Linked DNA regions of Homo sapiens: region 1 is linked to region 2. The links are contacts of gene promoters, found by promoter capture Hi-C in blood cells and fetal thymus (Javierre and others, 2016). All regions are on one chromosome and are shown on one strand. The core of a region is centred on a gene start or on the middle of the fragment in contact, and the rest is flanking DNA. Distances in the headings are between cores, read along the strand shown. Region 1 has its middle 6.2 kb from the start of SWSAP1. Region 2 holds the start of ELAVL3 (ELAV like RNA binding protein 3).

Region 1 (4,897 bases), core at 38-2,537, 110 kb before region 2:
AGAGGGATGGGGGATGCTGAGGGGCACTAAGAACCTCCAAGTGGAACACCTGGCTGTGTGGATGAGAACAGGGGTGCTGAGTATGAGATTACACCAAGACCCAACCCCCCTGAGAACTCAGCAGATACTGGGGATGTTCAAAGGGTCAGGGAGAGGGAGCCACAGGACCCCTCCCTCAATTGTGGCTCTGAGGGCTTTCAGACAGGGCATTTGGGACCCAGAGTCACTCAGGAACCAGGAAAAGGGAGTCTGTTTCCCTTCTCTCCTTAATTAATTCACTCATTCATTAAGCAAACACTGTAGAACCCCTACTGTGTGCTAGATGGTCTTAGTCTGTTCCAGCTGCCGTGACAAAATACCATGGACAGGATGGCTTATTTATTAAATTATTAAAAAATAAATTTCTCTACTACTATTAAATTCCTCTACTAATTATTAAAAAATAAATTTCTTGGCTGGGCATCGTGGCTCACGCCTGTAATCCCAGCACTTTGGGAGGCCGACAAGGGTGGATCACGAGGTCAGGAGATTGAGACCATCCTGGCTCACAGGGTGAAACCTCGTCTCTACTAAAAATACAAAAAATTAGCTGGGTGTGGTGGCGGGCGCCTGTAGTCCCAGCTACTCAGGAGACTGAGGCAGGGGAATGGTATGAACCCGGGAGGTGGAGCTTGCAGTGAGCCGAGATCGTGCCACTGCACTCCAGCCTGGGGGACATAGCAAGACTCTGTCTCAAAAAAAAAATAATAATAATAATAACAATAAATTTCTGATTTATTTATTTATTTATTTTGAGACGGAGTCTCGCTCTGTTACCTGGGCTGGAGTGCAGTGGTGCGACCTCGGCTCACCGCAACCTCCACCTTCCAGGTTCAAGCGATTCTCCTGCCTCACTCAGCCTCCTGAGTAGCTGGGACTACAGGTGCGCACCACCACGCCCAGCTAATTTTTTGTATTTTTAGTAGAGACGGGGTTTCACCGTGTTAGCCAGGATGGTCTCGATCTCCTGACCTTGTGATCTGCCTGCCTCAGCCTCCCAAAGTGCTGGGATTACAGGCATGAGCCACTGCGCCTGCCTTATTTTTATTGTGTGTGTGTGTCTTTTTTTGTTAAGATGGAGTTTTGCTCTGTCGCCAGGCTGGAGTGCAATGGCACGATCTCGGCTCACTGCAACCTCTGCCTCCTGGGTTCAAGCGATTCTCCTGCCTCAGCCTCCCAAGTAGCTGGGATTACAGGCACCCACCACCACGCCCGGCAAATTTTTGTATTTTCAGTAGAGATGGGGTTTCACCGTATTGGCCAGGGTGGTCTCGAACTCCTGACCTTGTGATCTGCCTGCCTCAGCCTCCCAAAGTGCTGGGATTATAGGCATGAGCCGCTATACCTGGCCTATTTTTTTAATAGAGACAGGGTTGTGCCATGTTCCTCGGGCTGGTCTTGAACTCCTGGGCTCAAGTGGTTCACCCACCCCAGCCTCCCAAAGTGCTGGGATTACAGACATGAGCTACCACCCCTGGCCTAACAGAAGTTTATTGCTCACAGTTTTGAAGGCTGGGAAGTCCAAGATCAAGGCCCCAGCAGATTCGGTGGCCAGTGAGGGCCTGCTTCCTCATAGACTCACTCTAGTCTCACATGGCAGAAGGTGGAGAAGCTCTCTGGGGCCTCTTTTATAAGAGCACTAATCCCATTCATGAGGACTCCACCCTTATGACCTAATCACCTTTAAAAGGCCCCCACCTCCTATCACTGTGGGTTAGGATTTCAACATATGAACCGGGGGAAGGGGCACAAACATTCAGACCAAAGCACAGGTGCTGTTTAGTTAGGCACAGGGTGGGGGTTGTGGCAGGGGGAGGTTACAGCAGTAAACAACAGACACAAACCTCTGCTGTCACGGATGTGAGCGTTCTAATATGTAAGACAACAAACAAGGTAAATGGGGCCTGGTCTCCACACCTGTAATCCCAATACTTTGGGAGGCCAAGGCCAGAGGATTGCTTGAGCTTAGGAGTTGGAGAATGACCTGGGCAACATAGTGAGACCCCCGTCTGTTCAAATATATATATATATATATATTTTAAAATTAGCTGGGCATGTTGGTGCGTACCTGTAGTCCCGGCTATGCAGGAGGCTGAGATGGGAGTCCCTTGAGCCCAGGAAGTCGAGACTGTCGTGAGCTGTGATGATGCCACTGCACTGTAGCCTGGGTGACAGAGCAAGACCATGTCTCTGGATAAATAAATACACAAATTAATAAATATAAAAATAAACGAGCTATATACAGATTCACAATTCCAAATTTTTATAGAAGTCTGAAAACCAGGCCAGGCGCAGTTGCTCACACCTGTAATCCCAGCATTTTGGGATGCTGAAGTGGGCGGATCACCTGAGGTCGGGAATTCAAGACCAGCCTGGCCAACATGGTGAAACCCTGTCTCTACTAAAAATACAAAAATTAGCTAGGTGTGGTGACACACGTCTGTAATCCCAGCTACTAGGGAGGCTGAAGCAGGAGAATCGCTTGAACCCGGGAGTTAGAGGTTGCAGTGAGCTGAGATCACACCACCGCACTCCAGCCTGGGTGACAGAGTGAGACTCTGTCTCAAAAAAGAAAAAGAAGTCTGAAAACCAAAATCCTTTCATAACTCATTTATGGCAAAACCTAACCTGAACTGACCTGAGATTATATATAGCTTTTATTTATTTCACTTGATGTGAATATTCTTGTGTTTTGCTGAAGATAAAGTGACTTGAGGATTTTACTCCTGGTCCCACCAGGGGTATGAAATACATAGTATTTATACCCTATTACTTTTTTAAAATCTGAAAAATCCTGAATTTCCAACTCCAGGATCATGGATTTAGCTAAGGGATCTCTGATATGTTAGATATCGATATGTGATAAGGAGAACACTCAAGCTAAGGAAGCCGATGTGACAAGTGTGGGATAGGGACATGGTTTGCAATTTTTTTAAGAGAGAGGGAGGGTCTCGCTCTGTTTGTTGCTTAGGCTGAGCGACGAGTGGAATGCAGTGGCATGATCATAGCTCACTACAGCCTTAAACTTCTGGGATCCAGCGATCCAGTGATCCTCCCAAGTAGCTGGGACTACAGGCACACACCACCATGCCTGCTAATTTTTTAAATTTTTAGTAAAGACAATGTCTTACTATATTCCCCAGGCTGGTCTTCAACTTCAGGGCTCAAGCGATCTTCCCACTTCGGCCTCCCAAAATGCTGGGATTAAAGGGGTGAGCTGCCATGCCTGGGCTATGGTTTGCAATTTTTAAAAAAGTGATCAAGGAAGTTTTCTCTGAGATGACACTGGGAGGGAGGGAGCCATGCAAATATGTGGTGGGGAGACCTCTAGGCAAAGGGAAGAGCAAGTGCGAAAGCCTTGAGGTGGGAACATGCCTTCTGTGTTCAGGGAACAGCAAAGTGGCCTGTGTAGTAGTTGGCACAGGGTGAGCAAGGAGGAGACAGAAGAAAAGGAGGCTGGGGAGACGGTGGGGAAGTTGAGGAGATGGTGGAGCTGATCATGGGCCACTGGGGGGATGAGATGAGAGCATCAGATAGCTGATGGCAGAGGAAAGACAGCATCATGAGGCCCCCTGATTGACTGACCAAGGCTCCTGTTTCCAGAGCTTATACACCTGAGACCCGTGGTCTCTCCTGACACACAGCTGTCTCCACTGGGGCCAGGAAGAAAGCAAAGCTTCAGCACAACGGACAGCGCCACCACCCAAACCAGCAGGCCCTGTCTGTGATGCTGACGCAGAGCGCTGGCCAACAATGGGAATAGTGGGGGAAGAATCAGGTCCCATTCAGGAGGGTGGTGACAGCAGCCCTGGCCTTGCACCAACCCCCATACTGGGATAGATGATCTTAGAGAACACAGGCTGGCTTGTACCTGTTTGGGATTGGCTGGGCGTGGTGGCTCACGCCTGTAATCCCAGCACTTTGGGAGGCCGAGCCAGGCGGATCACTTGAGGTCAGGGGTTTGAGACCAGCCTGGCTAACATAGTGAAACACCATTACTACTAAAAATACAAAAAATTAGCTGAGCGTGGTGGTATGCGCCTGTAATCCCAGCTACTCAGGAGGCTGAGGCAGGAGAATCGCTTGAACCCAGGAGGCAGAGGTTGCAGTGAGCAGAGATCATGCCATTGCGCTCCAGCTTGGGCAACAAAAGCGAAACTCCAGCTCAAAAAAAAAAAAAAAAATGAAAGCCTTCTCAGCTGGGCACAAGTGGCTCATTCCTGTAATCCCAACACTATGGGAGGTCTAGGTAGGAGGATTGCTTGAACCCAGGAGTTTGAGATCAGCCTAGGCAATGTAGCAAGACCCTGCTCTCTAAAAAGTAAAGCGTTTAGGCCTGGAGCAGTGGCTCACGCCTGTAATCCCAGCACTCAGAGAGGCTGAGGTGGCAGATCACCTGAGGTCAGGAGTTCAAGACCAGATTGGCCAACATAGTGAAACCCCATCTCTACTACAATTACAAAAATTAGCCAGGAGTGGCAGCATGCGCCTGTAATCCCAGCTACTCAGGAGGCTGAGGCAGGAAAATCACTTGAACCCGGGAGGCGGAGGTTGCAGTGAGTCCAGATCGCACCATTGCACTCCAGCCTGGGTGACAGTGCGAGACTCGGTCTCAAAAAATAAAAAAACGACAACAACGACAACAAAAATCAAAAGCCTTCTCAACATGCCCCTGTGGGTCTCACAGCATCTCAATCTCAAGTTGACTAAAACAGAGCTCTCTGATTTAGAATGTCACAACACAACTATCCCAGGCACAGAGCTCTCTCCTGTCTCCTCATGACTCGAGTAAAAGCCAACTTTCTCCCAATGCCTCAGGGCCCTTGCACTGAATGAATTCTCCACCTAGAATGTTCTT
Region 2 (5,366 bases), core at 2,633-5,132:
GATAGTTAGGTCACCTCTCTATGCCTTTCTGTTCTTCCTTAAGGAAGGTATGGCACAGAGGTCTCACATGTATGGAGCTGGATTCTGAATTTGCATCCTGGTTCATTAAGAGTTTTGTGGGGTTTTTCTTTTCCTTGTTTATTTTTGAGACAGGGTCTTGCTCTGTTGCCCAGTCTAGAGTGTAGTGGTACGATCATGGCTCACTGAAGCCTTAACCTCCTTCTGCCTCAACCTCCCAAGTAGCTGGGACTATAGGCTTGCACCACCCAGCCGGCTAATTTTTCTCTTTTTCTGTAGAGATGAGGTTTTGCCATGTTGCCCAGGCTGCGATCCTCCTGCCTTAGCCTCCCAAAGTGCTGAGATTACAGGTGTGAGCTCCACCATGACTGGCCCTGGAGATGGATTCTGAATTTGCATTTAAGCTCATTGAGGTAAGAGTTCTATGTTGAGTTGCTGATATTTGCTATAAGAGCCCAGTGAGCAGTTGGCAGTACACAAGCCACTGCTTCTGGACATGCTAGATCCCTATTTTTTTTTTTTTTTTTTTGAGATGGAGTCTTGCTCTCTTGCCCAGCCTGGAGTGCAATGGCATGATCTTGGCTCAGTGAAACCTCTGCCTCCCGGGTTCAGGCAATTCTTCCACCTCAGCCAGGTAGCTGGGACCACAGGTGTGCACCATCGCGCCCCGCTAACTTTTTATATTTGTAGTAGAGACGGTGTTTCACCATATTGGCCAGGCTGGTCTCGAACTCCTGACCTCATGTGATCCACCCACCTTGGGCTCCCAAAGTGCTGAGATTACAGGCATGAGCCACCGTGCTAGATCCTATTTTTGAACTCCACTGAGCATGTGCAAAGTTTTCATTGACCTCCCACAACCACAGTGAATGGTATGAAGGGTCTCCTCCATTTCTCAGATGGGGACACTGAGGGTTAGTCACAGGGACCTATGACTTGTCCAGGGTGACAGGAGGAGGTGGAGGGGATGGTGTCAACATCTGACTCCTGATCCGATGACCCTAGAGCCGAAAGAGTTACTGGCTGCCCCCCTCCCATGGTGTCCCCAACCTGAGCAGAGTGAAGAGGTGACTGGGTGGTTCAGACCCAGGTTCTTGAGGCCTAGCCTGCTAATCTGGCCACCACCCGTTCTCCCTCCCATTTGTGCCAGAGCTTAGCGGGACCAGTATCTCGTTTCCTCTGTGGCTGAGCCGGCTGAGCTGATAATGGGGATCAGATTGATGGAAGCCACACCCGCCCTGCCCCAGCCTGCAGTAAGTGCACAGCCTGGGATGGTGGCTACATGGGCATCAAAGGGACTTCGGCGACTGGCCCCAGACAGAGATGGGGGGGTGGCAAAGTCAGGGAGGAGGAGGGCAGATAAAAGATGGAGGGTTAGGGAAGCTTCCCATTCTCTCCAGTGCTTCTTCTAAGTCTCCCCCGACTTTTGGTTTCTCTCTCCCTCTTTCTTCCTCTGTTTCCCTCTCTTCTCCACTGTCCTGCCCTCTCTCTGAACCGTTCTGTGTCCCTGGCCTCATCACTCTCTCTTCCTCTTTTCCACCATCGCACATACATCTGACGTATGGGTTTTGCAGTGAACACACCTGAGGCCACTTTTTTCTTAAAACCTCCTGTGTCTGACCCCCACGGCCCCCAGCTGCGGCCCCTGGCCCCAGTCACAGTGACAGATGCCTGGATACCGGCGACAATAGGGCATTGAGTGGCTATGCATGGTGAGGCTGGGCTACCACGTGGTGCTGACTGAGCCTCCTACTTCTGGGCCCTTCTTCAATGCAGGGTCCTCCTGGTCTTAATTTGTCACCTCTCTTCCTCCCAGCCTGTCCCCATGATACATCTCTGCCCCAGGGCTCGCTCACTGGAGAACCTAGGTCCTCAAGGCCCTTGTGTGACCTCTGACCACACCCTCTTTCCCTTTGTGCATTAGTTTCCTTTTTCAAATGAGAGAACCGATCAGAGGACGCTTAGGAGATGCTGGACTGTTGCGGGAGTTCTGAGGTCCTCAGGAGGCCACACTCCAGTTCCCAGACCTGGGTGAACAGCACGAGGCCCAGAGAGGGAAAGGAACGGCCTGAGGTCACACAGCAGGTGAGCCAGGCCTCCGGGACCTCATTTCTCAGAGCCAGGTGGGCGGGTCCCAGGGTCCAGGAGGGGAGAGGCTTAGGCATGGAGGGAGCGCCAATCATGCCCCCACCCCCAGTGCTAGCCACGACTCGAAAAAGGGGCCCGGAAAGAGACACAATGCACAGAGACACACACGCAGAGACGGAGAGATAGGAAGAGTGGAAGAGGGAGGCCCAGGCGCCGGGACCAGACAAAGGACGCGCGGCGGCGCGGGGAGCGGAGTCGCGCGGCAGGGGCGGGGGTGGAGCCGGGGTGGGGCTATAACTGGCCAGCCCCGCCCCCGGGATACGCCCGGGCTGCCGAGTGGGAATCCGAGGGCTCGGGCGAGGCCGGGCCCCCGGGGCCCTGGGGGCGGGGCCTAGATGGGCGTGCCCGGGCGTGGCCAGGCAGGGCGTGGCAGGGCGGGAGGGGCTGCGCGCTCGGGAGCTGACCAGCTCCGTGGCTGCTGAAAGCACCGAGCGCGGGGCTAGCGGTGCGGGCGAGCAGGCGGGCGGGCCGCGCTCAAGGTCACCTCGCGGCCCAGAGCCTTGGCGAGGTGGGGAGCCTGGACCTGGCCTAAGGGGGCTGTCTCGGCCTCCCACCCCATCTCCCGGGGGGCGGAGACCCGGGAGCCCAGAGGTGCCCCCCCAACCCGCGGGCCCTCCTCTCCCCTCCCCCTCCCCGCAGCCCGAGGCGCCCGCGCGAGGCTGCGGCCCGCGAAGAAGCGCCGAGAAACAAAGGGACGCGGCAGCAGCGGCGGCGGGCCCGCGGGGCCTCCGGGCGCGCCCCCTCCTCTCCCCTCCCCGCTTGCCGCAAGGTCGACGGGCTCGAGGACGAGACGCCCGCCTCCCGGGTGCGGCCGAGGCCCGGGGCGCGCGATCCGACGCCACCCGCTTTCCCAGGGCTCTCGGGGACGCTTTGTCGCTTTGGCTTGGCCCAGCACCAGTGATCGGGCCCTGCGTTTGCCTGGGCGGCCTGCGGGGTCTGGGCCTGGATGGAGGAAGCATCCTTAGCCGCCGCGGCCCCTCCCCCATCAGGCCTGCTGGAGAGGGGGCAATCCCGCCTCCAGGGCGGCGTCGGACGCCTCCCGAATCGCAGTCAGTCTCCCTAAGGCCCTCTCAGACCAAGCTCTAAGCGCCCTCAGCACTCTGGGCGCGGCCCTGCCCACTCTCAGGCCCCGAGGCTTGGTCCTACCCCCCCAACCCGGGCCTAGCTAGGCCTGGTCCTACCCCCCCCGCCGCACCCGCCCAATCTCCGCGGAGCCTGGGCCCAACTCCTCCCCGTCCCGATTCCCTTTCGGCGACAGGGGAATACCTACAGTGACCATTCTTGTGTGCCCGGCGGGCGCGGTCCGTGTTGAGGGGGGCTCCGGGGGTGGTGCACTCCTAGGGGGGCGCCCGATGCTCACGCTGGGGTCCCGCCCGGGCGGCCTCTGGTGCGGCCGCTGCAGATGTGGCGATGAAGGCGGCGGCTCCCTCGAGGGCCAGGGACGGGCCCGAACCCGGGGATGCGCGCGCGGATGGCCGGGCCCCGGGGTGGCCTGCGGGCGGCAGGGGATGGAAAGAGGGAGCGGGCGCGGGGTTGAGGACGCCCCCTGCGCGGCCCCGCGGGGCCCGGGGAGGTTGCGCTTCCCGACAGAGATCGCGGCGCTCTGCCTTTCGCCGCCGCCCCTCGGTCGGTCCTGTCCGGTCCCGTGTGTTCAAGTCCTCTCCCCTCGCCCACCCTCCCTCCCTCCCTCCGGCCCGCGCTGCGCGCTCCGCGCTCTGGACCGCGCCGCCGCCGCCCCCAGCCCTTTATAGCAGCAGCTGCCAGCGCCGGCGTCGCTCATTGGCTGCGGCGACCGAGCTCCGCCTCCTCGCGGCTCCCGACGGCGCGGCAGGTGGAAGTGAGCGCGCACTGGTCGGGACTCTGAATCCCCCAAAAGCGCATCCTAGGTGCTCGGGTTGCCAGATTTGGGCCCTCCTTCCCTCGAGGCCCTTGCTTCCTACCCTGGCACCCCTTCTTGGGCTGGCTTTCGGGCCAGGAGACGGGCTCCCCTCCTCCGTCCAGCTCCTAGAGCTGGAGGAGCCAACAGAGCGAGGAGGTATTAGTGGCCTGAATATGCGACCTTCCAGAGGTGTTGTCCACTGAGGGAACTGGACAGGGGATCAGGAACCAATATTTTAGTAGGCAGAGGCCTGGGTCCCCAGATTTGGAGGCACCAGTGTAGACCACCTCAAGACCACGGGGGAGGGTGGCTACTGTGGCCCTAGTCTTCTGCAGAAGGAGACTGGGACGCTGTTGGTTTTGAGTGAGCTGGATCCTTCTAGGGTTCAAAAGGTAAGGACTGGCACTCCCCAGTGCAAGGAAACTCCGCACTGCTCCGAAGGGGGTGAAAAGGTTTGGGGCTCAGTGTTCTGGACAATCATCGCTGGAGCCATGCAGCTCTGGGAAACCACGGATCCTTCTTGGACCCCACAGAACTGGGGTGGGTGGATCTGCCACATAAATGTCCTGGCTTTCTAGGCTCGTGATTGGTCCTCCTGACTGTGGAGTCATGCTCGCTCTCTGCTAGGGGGAACCTGGCCTCTCTCTAAGGCGTTGGGGGTGGCGCAGCCTCCTTTGGTGCGCGGGCGCCGGTGCATGTTTACGTCGGGGCGCGGGAACTAGCACACACTGGGGCGGGGTCGCCAGGGCGTGAGGCTTCAGCACCACAGACAGCAATCCGACAGTCCGGTCGAGGGCGCTGCCGGCGAGGTAGCCCAGACCCCCTAACTGGAGAGCGGCAGTCCCCACCCAATCCTCGTTCCTGCACGCCCTTTAGGCTCCAGACTGTCAGAGAGCGCCACCAGCGAGGAGAGCCTAATTTGCCCAATCAGGGGCGGCCCTTGAGATAACCAGTTACTGGAAGATGCCCTAGAGATCGAGCCAATGGGAGTGCGCGCACCAGGGGATGCTGCCACGCCTGGAAAGGGCAGGCCAATCGCAGTGGCCCGCGCAATAGGGGCGGTGGCGGTGCAGATCCCCGGGTGGCCCCTCTTGGGCTCGCCGGGGCGACCTGGCTGCGGGCGCTAGGGGCCCCAAGCGATGGTCTGTTCCCCACCCCGTGTTCCTCCCGGTTTCCGTCATCGGAAACTGAGCTAGGAGGGGGGCTGCTCCTGGGCGCGCGGACCCCGCTGCGGTTCCCATGGAAACCTGCCGGCTCCGGCAGTGCGGGGAGAGTGGAGGGGACCTGCCTCGCGGGGGGAGGGAGCTCGCGGGGGCGGCCC

Evidence for each region. Contacts are between HindIII fragments. The CHiCAGO score rates a contact against its expected background, and 5 or more counts as called.
Region 1: a fragment that was not itself captured here is called in contact with the fragment with the promoter of ELAVL3 in region 2 in 1 of 17 cell types (erythroblasts); the score reaches 6.5 in erythroblasts.

Annotation. Positions count from the first base shown.
Region 1 is chr19:11,366,067-11,370,963 of GRCh38, forward strand. No RefSeq gene overlaps it. Among named protein-coding and RNA genes, the nearest start is that of SWSAP1, 6.2 kb to the right of the region's middle. The HindIII fragment of the contact is 4,852 bases long and covers 1-3,713 here.
Region 2 is chr19:11,477,164-11,482,529 of GRCh38, forward strand. ELAVL3 (ELAV like RNA binding protein 3) reads right to left here and starts at 3,883. Exons shown (of 7, transcript NM_001420.4): 1 at 3,437-3,883. The coding sequence starts at 3,445. RefSeq lists silencers at 2,401-2,595, 4,970-5,219, 5,250-5,366. The HindIII fragment of the contact is 20,383 bases long and covers 1,400-5,366 here.